2 separate regions of the Homo sapiens genome follow, and region 1 is linked to region 2. Evidence: promoter capture Hi-C in 16 types of primary human blood cells and fetal thymus (Javierre and others, 2016). All regions are on one chromosome and are shown on one strand. Each heading gives the region's core, a stretch centred on a gene start or on the middle of the fragment in contact. The rest is flanking DNA. Distances are from core to core; before and after follow the strand shown. Region 1 overlaps BAZ2A (bromodomain adjacent to zinc finger domain 2A). Region 2 holds the start of RBMS2 (RNA binding motif single stranded interacting protein 2).

Evidence for each region. The method cuts DNA at HindIII sites, captures the fragments that hold promoters and counts their contacts. A CHiCAGO score of 5 or more calls a contact.
Region 1: a contact is called between a fragment that was not itself captured here and the fragment with the promoter of RBMS2 in region 2, in 1 of 17 cell types (endothelial precursors). The highest score is 7.5, in endothelial precursors.

Annotation. Positions count from the first base shown.
Region 1 is chr12:56,618,272-56,623,503 of GRCh38, forward strand. The region is part of intron 1 of BAZ2A (bromodomain adjacent to zinc finger domain 2A); the gene reads right to left. Among named protein-coding and RNA genes, the nearest start is that of BAZ2A, 9.4 kb to the right of the region's middle. The HindIII fragment of the contact is 1,417 bases long and covers 3,153-4,569 here.
Region 2 is chr12:56,518,607-56,523,570 of GRCh38, forward strand. RBMS2 (RNA binding motif single stranded interacting protein 2) reads left to right here and starts at 3,214. Exons shown (of 14, transcript NM_002898.4): 1 at 3,214-3,483. The coding sequence starts at 3,418. RefSeq lists an enhancer at 3,649-4,392. The HindIII fragment of the contact is 765 bases long and covers 2,961-3,725 here.

The sequences.
Region 1 (5,232 bases), core at 2,611-5,110, 100 kb after region 2:
TAATGTTTTAGTTTTGTGGCTTAAATATAAAGAAACGGTCACAGGGAAAATAAAATAGCAAGATACTTATATTTGTAAAGTGCAATGGCTCATTGAGGTATGGCTAAAAAGTTTTTCACCCTTTCTGAATACTACTAAGAATGATAAGAAGCCCTTGATCAGAATGAATTTAACTTTGACAGAGGAAAGGAAAGAAAGCAAGCAGAAGCCAGAATTATTGGTAAACTCTAACATATCAATCGGATTCTTGTGACATCCTAGTGCATACCAACTTGATATGTGAGAAACATAATCTGTCTTGATACAGAAAAAGCAACTCCTTGAATTATGTTACTACATTTTAAAAAAGAGAAGAATTCAGGCCAGGTACGGTGGCTCACCTGAGGTCAGGAGTTCGAGACCAGCCTGACCAACATGGTAATACCCTGTCTCTACTAAAAATACAAAAATTAGCTGGGTGTGGTGGCAGGCACCTGTAATCCCAGCTACTCAGGAGGCTAAGGAAGGAGAATCGCTTGAACCCGCAAGGCAGAGGTTGCAGTGAGCTGAAATTGCGCCATTGCACTCCAGCCTGGGCGACAAGAGTGAAACTCCATCTCAAAAAAAAAAGAATGAATACACTGGTTAAGTACATATATGATGAGGCCTGGCATAGTGGTTCACACCTATAATCCCAATACTTTGGAAGCCAAAGCAGGAGGACTATTTGAGGCTAAGAGTTTAAGACCAAGCTGGATAACATGGCGAGAACCGATCTCTACAAAACATTTTAAAAGTAGCAGGGTGTGAAGGCCAGGCACGGTGGCTCACACCTGAAATCCCAGCACTTTGGGAGGCCGAGGCTGGCGGATCACCTGAGGTCAGGAGTTCAAGACCAGCCTGGCCAACATGGTGAAACCCTACCTCTACTAAAAAATACAAAAATTAGCTGGGCGTGGTGGCAGGCACCTGTAATCCCAGCTGCTCGGGAGGCTGAGGCAGGAGAATTGCTTGGACCTGGGAGACGGAGGTTGCAGTGAGCGGAGATCATGCCATTGCACTCCAGCCTGGGGGACAAGAGCGAGACTTCATCTCAAAAAAAAAAAAAGGAGCAGGGTGTGGTGGGGCACACCTGTGGTCCTAGCTTACTCGAGAGGCTAAGGCAGAAGGATCACTTGAGCCCAGGAGGTCGAGGCTGCAGTGAACCATGATCATGCCACTGCACTCCAGCCTAGGTGACAGAGCATGACCCTGTCTCAAAAAAAAAAAAAAAAAAGAAAAGAAAAGAATATATATGCCCACTGGCCAAAGTCTGCAAGAGTTACATTCATAAATATGCTACATTACTAAAATTAGACACCATTAGTATAAATGTGAATATAACATAAGTCTGAGCATGATATATAAACCCTGCATAGTATGTGGGAATTGTCTGTATCTTAATCAATTTTAACTGAAATTTTAAAAATAAAAATAGGCCAAGCATGGTGGCTCATGCCTGTAATCCTAGTGCTCCAGGAGGCTGAAGCAGGAAGATCACTTGAGGTCAGGAGATCAAGACCAGCTTGGGAAACATAGCAAGGCTCTGTCTCCACAAAAAATAAAAAAGTTAGCTGAGCATGGTGGTTCCTGCCTGTAGTCTCAGTTGCTCAGGAGGATGAGGCAGGAAGATTACTTGAGCCCAAAAGTGCAAGTCCAGCCTATGCACCATAGCAAGACCCCATCTCTAAAAACTAAAAGCAATGTGCATTTGTTGATTTAAGGGAAAAAGTTTTTAGGACTTACTTATCTCCCATATAGGATATCTCATCTTTAGTCTAAATAGGGGTGTCCAATCTTTTGGCTTCCCTGGACCACACTGGAAGAAGTGTCTTGGGCCACACATAAAATACACTAATGAGAGCTGATGAGCTTTAAAAAAAAAAAAAAAATCACAAGAAAATCTCCATGTTATCTTTTAAGAAAGTTTACAAATTGGTATTGGGCCAGATTCAAAGTTGTCCTGGGTGGGCTGGACAAGCTTGCTCTAAATTAAGTAGCAGACCTAAACCTGCCATGCATCAGTGAAAAAATGGAGTCTTTATAGTGAAAAGACCCCAGGTTAGCCAGGCATGATGGTGAGCAGCTGCAGTCCCAGCCACTTGGGAGGCTGAGGCAGGAGGATTGTTTGAGCCTGGGAAGCAGAGATTGCAGTGAGCCAAGATCATGCCACTGCATTCCAGCCTGGGTGACAGAGCGAAACCCTGTCTCAAAAAAACAAAACAAAACAAAACAAACAAACAAACAAAACACACAGGGTCCTCCAGGATTTCCTTTTTTTTTTTTTGAGACAGAGTTTCCCTCTTGTTGCCCATGCTGGGGTGCAAGGGTGTGATCTCGGCTCACTGCAACCTCCACCTCCCAGGTTCAAGCGATTCTCCTGCCTCAGCCTCCCCAGCAGCTGGGATTACAGGCACCCGCCAACACGCCCAGATAATTTTTTATCTTTTTAGTAGAGACGGGGTTACACCATGTTGGCCAGGCTGGTCTTGAATTCCTGACCTCAAGTGATCGACCCACCGCGGCCTCCCAATGTGCTGGGATTACAGCCATGAGCCACTGCGCCCAGTCAGGATTTCCCTAGTATAGTTAACAGCTACTCCTCAGCAGTAGGGGGTCTGAAAGATAAGCATCATGAGATTAATAATCCTTCTTAAGTGCAAGAATTAAAGGAAAGTTCATTCCTTAGTCTCCAGTTAGGTTCCTTCCAAAGCTTATACCACAGAGCAAGGAGGACACTCTTCACTTCAGAAGTCCTGGAAATACTATGCCTAGAGGGCCAATTTCATCTGATCCTCACCTCTCCTCTCCCCAGTTTTTTGTACACCTCCCCTGGTGTGGAGGATACATGCAACTTCCATCCTATGTGCAGTGGACTATATCCTCCTCAATGATGGGTCACGGTTCATTTTTCCATTCTCTATTTGAATCCAAGAACAAAGTTGTGACCTCCTCTCTGCTGCTCTGGAAAAGCACAGCATATCCTGTTTTTGTAAATATTAATAACAACATGTCGATGGCTCACAGAAATCAGAGAATTAAAAAGAATGGGAAGTTATTTAGTATGTGAGATCAGTTTCTCCACCTGTCTCTTCTGAACTGTCATCAGAACCACAACCACTTCATTTACGAGAAGCTTCCTAGACACATAAAATTGTCTTTGTGCTATGCAATGTGGTCAGCACAATGTAGTGGGCTCTAGGTTCAAATCCCAACTCTACTATTTACTAGCTAGCTGTTTAACCTTGGACAAGTTACTTATACTTGCTGGGCCTAAGTTTCATCATCTGTAACAATTTTTGTACCCACTTTTAAGGACTGGTGAGGATGAAATGAGAAAATCTAAATTAGAGCCCCAGCACAGTGTCTGTCATCCAGCAAGCACTCCATAAACGTTAGTTTTTTTTTTTTCTTCTTGAGACAGAGTCTCACTCTGTCATCCAGAGTGGTGTGCAGTGGCATGATCATAGCTCACTGCAGCCTGGAACTCCTGGGCTCCAGTAATCCTCCTGCCTCAGCTTCCCAAGTAGCTAGGACTACAGGTGCTCACCACCACACCTGGCTAATTTTTAAATTTTTTTGTAGACACAGGGTCTCGCTATGTTGCCCATGATGGTCTCAAATTCCTGGCCTCAAGCAATTCTCCCACCTTGACCTCCCAAAGTGCTGGGATTACAGGCGTGAGCCACCTTACCAGGACTACATTAGCTACTATTATTAGACAAACAGTAAAAGACTGTGTAGTTTTCAAAAAGATAATCAGGCCTGGCCAGGCGCAGTGGTTCACGCCTGTAATCCCAGCACTTTGGGAGGCCAAGGTGGGTGGATCACCTGAAGTCAAGAGTTCGAAACCAGCCTGGCCAACATGGCGAAACCCCATCTCTATTAAAATTACAAAAAATTAGCTGGGCGTGGTGGCGGGCACCTGTAATCCCAGCTACTCAGGAGGCTGAGGCAGGAGAATTGCTTGAATCCAGGAGATGGAGGTTGCAGTGAGCTGAGATCGCACCATTGCACTCTAGCCTGGGTGACAGAGCAACACTCTATCTCCAAAAAAAAAAGATAATCAGGTCTAAACGGTCTACATATAAAATAAATATAATTTAAAACTAGGGATGATCCAGCCAGACTTCCTTATATACAATTTGACTCCTGATTTCAGATGTCACTTAAATATGGGAATTAATTATGTCACAGTATGGGAATACGAAAAACATGTGAACACCTCCTCTCAACAATGAACCTAGGTTTATTTCATTTTAACCTTCCTACTCAAGATGCTTTTCACAATAAACCCTAAAGGTAAACTCTGTCCTCCCATCCAGAGCTAGTAAGAACAGTAAAGCAAAGGAGAGCATCTCCCTTTGAACTAATAGGATTTTCACCAAATGAGAAAAGAAATCAGCCAGTGCCCAACCCCTAGAGTAGCAGATGACTCTCATACCAGGAAGTACATTCATTCAAGCACCCAGCCCAGTCCCAGCTATACATAAATGGATCTTTTAAGAGCTCCTATGTTTCATTTATAAGAGTAAGGGACATTGCCCTATAAGCTTGAAGCAATAAAGCCCTCCCCACAGGGCCGAATAGGTTGCTTTTCTCCCAGTTCCAATCAAAGAGCTGCTACTCTGTGGGCCTGTGACATGGTTTAATAGAAAAAGGCTGACAACACCAAGAGCAGTGGCTCGTGTAATCCCAGCACTTTGGGAGGCCGAGGTGAGCGGATCACGAGGTCAAGAGATCGAGACCATCCTGGCTAACACGGTGAAACCCTGTCTCTACTAAAAATAGAAAAAATTAGCCAGGCGTGGTGGCGGGCACCTGTAGTCCTACCTACTCGGGAGGCTGAGGCAGGAGAATGGCGTGAACCCGGGAGGTGGAGGTTGCAGTGAGCCGAGATCGCGTCACTGCACTCCAGTCTGGGCGACAGAGCGAGACTCCATCTCAAAAAAAAAAAAGAAAAAGGCTGACAATGCACAAAGTGTTGAAATAAATATTATATATTGCAACACTGTTACAGGTGTCCTCCCTGACCAATTCTAACCCTCCAGCCTCTGAGGCTACCCCCCAGGACAACAAGACACATTAACACCCTCCAGCTGGATACTGCAGTGGTCCCTGCAGCTCTTGGGTTCATTCTTCTCATGTAGTACATCAAAATCTCACAAATGGGGTTGGGGGGTGAGAGAGATTTCAAATGTTTATCTTGACTAA
Region 2 (4,964 bases), core at 1,964-4,463:
AAATGTCTCTTCCCCAAAGAAGTTACAGATAACTCTCATTTTGCTTTTTTCCCTTCAAAACAATTCCTGAGTGCTGGGTTCATGAGAACCAAGAATTAGAGAGGCATTGACTAAATCTGGAAAAATGTGGGCAATGTAATGGGCAAAGCAGAAGGGCGTCAAAGTAAATACACTGGAGGAAGTAGGATTCTTCCTCCTCCCGTATACTTCCTGAATCTAACCACAGAACACCATTACCTTCCCCATCATTTCCACAGAATTCCATAACTCCTTTACAAATATACTCACCTGTAATGCCAGCAGTTTTGGAGACTGAGGTGGGCAAATTGCTTGAGCTGAGGAATTCAAGACCAGCCTGGGCAACATGATGAAACCCCGTCTCTACCAAAAAAAAAAAAATTACAAAAGTTAGCCAGGTGTGGTGGTGCATGCCTGTAGTCCCAGCTACAGGGTGGGGAGGGGTGGGATGGGTGTGAGGATCACCTGAACCTGGGGAAGTCAAAGCTGCCTGTTGTGAGCCGTGATTGTGCTACTGCACTCCAGCCTAGGTGACAGAGTGAGACCCTGTCATAAAAAAAAATATATGTTTATAATACATATACTCACCAGAATGAAGGATTTAGTTTCCAGTTTTGTTGGTGCTCTTTAACATAATACACCTTTGGCATCAGTTTGCATATCCGGGTCATTTTACTTCTGTGGTCCTAATTTACCAGATTATAAAAATTTAGATTTTTCGGTCGGGTGCCGTGGTTCACACCTGTAATCCCAGCACTTTGGGAGGCCAAGGCGGGTGGATTGCCTGAGGTCAGGAGTTCGAGACCAGACTGGCCAACATGGTGAAACCCCGTCTCCACTAAAAATACAAAAATTAGCTGGGCGTCGTGGCACATGCCTGTAGTACCAGCTACTCAGGAGGCTAAGGCGGGAGAATCGTTTGAACCCGGGAGGCAGAGGTTTCAGTGAGCCAAGATTGCACCACTGCACTCCAGCCTGGCGACAGAGTGAGACTCTGTCTCAGGGGGAAAAAAAAAAAGTAGAAAGAAAAATTAGACTTAAAAAAAAAGTTAAATTGGGTTGATTGCCTTTATGAATCAGGCCTTCAAGAGAAAGGTTTCTGTACCACATTGTTAGGGTAAAGGAGAAGATATCATCCAAGGGCCTAAACAGCAAGGATAAATTGGTTAATGAGAGTCTCTGAGAGCAGAAAAAGGACTTAAAAAAATATATATATATATATATATGGGCCGGGCGCGGTGGCTCACTCCTGTAATCCCAGCACTTTGGGAGGCCAAGGCGGGCAGATCACCTGAGGTCGGGAGTTTGAGACCAGTCTGGCCAACAAGACTACTAAAAATACAAAAAAATTAGCCGGGCATGGTGGCGCATGCCTATAGTCTCAGCTACTCGGGAGGCTGAGGCAGGAGAATCGCTTGAACCCGGGACGCAGAGGTTGCGGTGAGCCAAGATAGCACCACTGCACTCTAGCCTGGGCAACAGAGCAAGACTCTGTCTCAGAAAAAAAAAAAGATATCACTGAGTGATGCCTTCATTTATTTATTTACTGCATTTGGCTGCTGTGTTTCCAGTCTCAGTTGCAATTCCCACACTGAGGCTCTCCCACCCTTCCTGTGTCCCCTGAGCTGAGCAGGCACTTCCTGTCCTATTGGAAATGAAAGTTAGAGATTGGGGGTAGGGTATGTATATTTACTCTGCAGAATACTAATACTGTCTGTTCCATTATCATAGCAAAAAAGTGACACGGAAACTAGAATAGAGACCAGAACTTCATTTGAGGGAGGGTTTGGGCTTAATATTTGTTGTCACAAAACAGACAGGGTTAATTTATATCTCAAGAAACTACTTAGGATGGCAGCAAGGTGGCCTTATGAAGGGATTTGAAGGCTTTCATTTAACATCCCTATTGCACTTGGATTGGTAGGGGTTACTGGATATCATTCTTAAGTTTTTGGTTTCCTTTCTTGTTAAGGTTACGCCTACAAAGACATTCTTTGGAAACTAGTAGAGGTAAGTGTTGCAACTCTATTAGGTTCTTGACTCTGAAATTTGTATTCCTTCCTAAGAATTTTGTGTTTTTATTCTGTTGAAGCATATGCTTCTTAAGTATTTTTTTTTTTTAAACAGCTCAAAGACAACTCAAAGCAGACATCCCAACTGTAGACTTCAATTTAGACATAAACTCCAGGTTTGGTGAGTTACTGTAATTGTTTCAGTTTCATGGATCTTAAAGATGAGGAAATAGCAGGGTAAAGTGTTAAATAAGATAGCCTGCAATTGTTAGAGAAATAACAAGGCACCAAGTTTCATGATATAGTCCAGTCTGATAATTCCTTCTTAAGTATGAACTCATTCCTCGGAGAATCTGAAATAGGAGTGAGGGGCATCAGCCCATTGGTATGACCCAAGAGAAACACATCTAAGGATCTGAAACTAGTTATACCCCATACTCTGTTTTGCTTAGCTCTGCTCTTTGGTGTGTTCCTCTGTTTGTTCCTTTGTACATTAAGATCACTATAAATGGGCCAGGGGTGGTGGCTCATGCCTGTAATCCCAGCACTTTGGGAGGTTGAGTGGGTGGATCACTTGAGGTCAGGAGTTCGAGACCAGCCTGGCCAAGATGGCGAAACCCCGTCCCTACTAAAAAATACAAAAATCAGCTGGGTGTGGTGGTGGTCACCTGTAATCCCAGCTACTCGAGAGGCTGAGGCAGGAGAATTGCGGAAGGTGGAGGTTGCAGTGAGCCGGATCCGGGATTGCACCACTGCACTTCAGCCTGGGTGACAGACTAAAACTCTGTCTCAAAAAAAAAAAAAAAAAATCACTGTAAGTGTAAAGTAGGGGAAGCCCTGAGCTTATCTCACACACTCTAACTCTGTTTTTTTTTTTTTTTTTTTTTGCGTGTTCTCCAAGGCAATGTCTCAGGAGCCCCTTTAAAATCAAGCTTGAAATCTTATAGCTGAGATCTAAGGGTGGAAATAAAGCCCTCATTGTCTTTATATGAGAATCGGAACTTGTTCATAGAGGAAAGGGGATAAATTTGAAAGGGGTTAGACCTAAGAACTCTTCTTTCTAGCTTTAACTCCTGAGACTATGAAAAACAAACAAAAAAAAACATCTTGGGCATTAGGACCCAGTGGAAGTGCCTCTGCCTCATTCAGACTCTGTTAACTTCTCTCAGTGACGTAAAGGAGCAGCCCGAGCTCATTCTCTGCCCGCAGCCCCCCTTCATCTCTCTCCTCCTGCTCCTTTTCTCCTCCTTTCTCCTCCCCCTCCCTTTTTTCCTCCCTCCCTCTCCCCCTTTCCCTCGCTCCCCTCCTCCCTCCCTCCCCGTCTTTCTTACCCCCTCCCTTTCTCTCTCTCTCTCTCTCTCGCTCGTTCCCTAACATTAAAGAGAAAATGCTGCTATCCGTGACTTCCAGGCCCGGGATTTCGACTTTTGGCTACAATAGAAACAACAAGAAGGTAGGGAAAAGCGCTTTTTTGGTATCTAGCTACTTCTTTTTCTGGGGATCTTGCAATGCCCTTGGTTTTTACATTCTTTTTAAAGAGGGGAAGGGGCTTCCTCTCTCAAGATTCCTAATTCCTCACCGCGCTTCTCCCTTTTCCACTACTGCTTTCTGCATCTTTCCTCAACTGGTTCTGGAGTTCAGGGAACTTTCAGTCTCTGCGAGGCCTGAAAAGACAGGGGAATTAAAAACAAATCAAGCTTGCAAGTTTGTATCCTTATGAAATGAAGTTAGTTTGACTTCCTGCTGATGTATCAATCTCCACAAGGATAATATGTCATTTCAGACCCTGTCCCCCAGTCCACCCCACCCCACAAGATTATTTTATTTTTTGATTAACTGTTTCCATTCTCTCCCCAACCTTCCCTCCTACCCATACCACCAGTAGTATTAGATAGCTGAAATCATAGATAGTCAGAGAAACCACAACAGTTTATCAAGAGCTGGGTATACTCTTCTAGACTACAGATCCTACCCCACCCAGCCTATAGAGAAGGAGTCTTGAGAGACATCGCACCTTGGGATTAAGGCACAGAGCGCTGTGATACTTTGGATCTTGTATTTGAACTGATACTTGGACCTCTGCAGATAGCCAGACTTTGCAGTGATCCTAGGAGTCTTTATGATTAACCCATGGCTGCCAGAGAATTGTGCTGTCCTTGGGCACATGGGGAGAGATGGACAATCTTGTCCATATTTGACAAGGAATATATTTGGCAGTTTCTGGCATTTCAGGGCGCACAGCATACTGATTAGGAGGAATTTCATGCTGTAGCAGGAAGAAGACTCTTTACCCTCTCTTTGTGTTGTAGCTGTTCTTTGAAGAAAAAATGTGACATAGACATTTAGGGAATCTTTTGCTCATCTAATGGAATGTTGGAGGGTGAGGAACGATTCCTGCTGCTTTCTCATGTACCTAATGAGACCATTAGAGGTGGATTTAAACACAAGTGTCTGATCAATGCAGTGGGTAAATGTTTAGACCCAAAACACTTAATGTTGATTTATGGGCTTAGTCTGTGTGGTACTCATTTTGTTTATATCCTGAAGAAATATGGGTAGAGGGGAGAGGAAATGGGGAGCTATAGGTCAGAGGATACAAAGTAGTAGATATGTAGGATGAACAAATCCTGAGATCCAATGTACAACATGAGGACTATAGATGATAAAGTTGTACTGTATATGGGATTCATGCTAAATGAGCAGACTTTAGCTCCTCTTGCCACAAAAAGAAACAAAAGGGACAATTATGTGGGATGATTAATTTACTTCACTATAGTAACCTTTCTACTATCTATATGTATCCCGTAACATGTTGTATACCTTAAATATACACAATAAAATTTACTTTAAAAAAGAAATGAGGCTGGGCATGGTGGCTTATGCCTGTAATCCCAGCACTTGGGAGGCCAAGGTGGGTGGATCACTTGAGGTCAG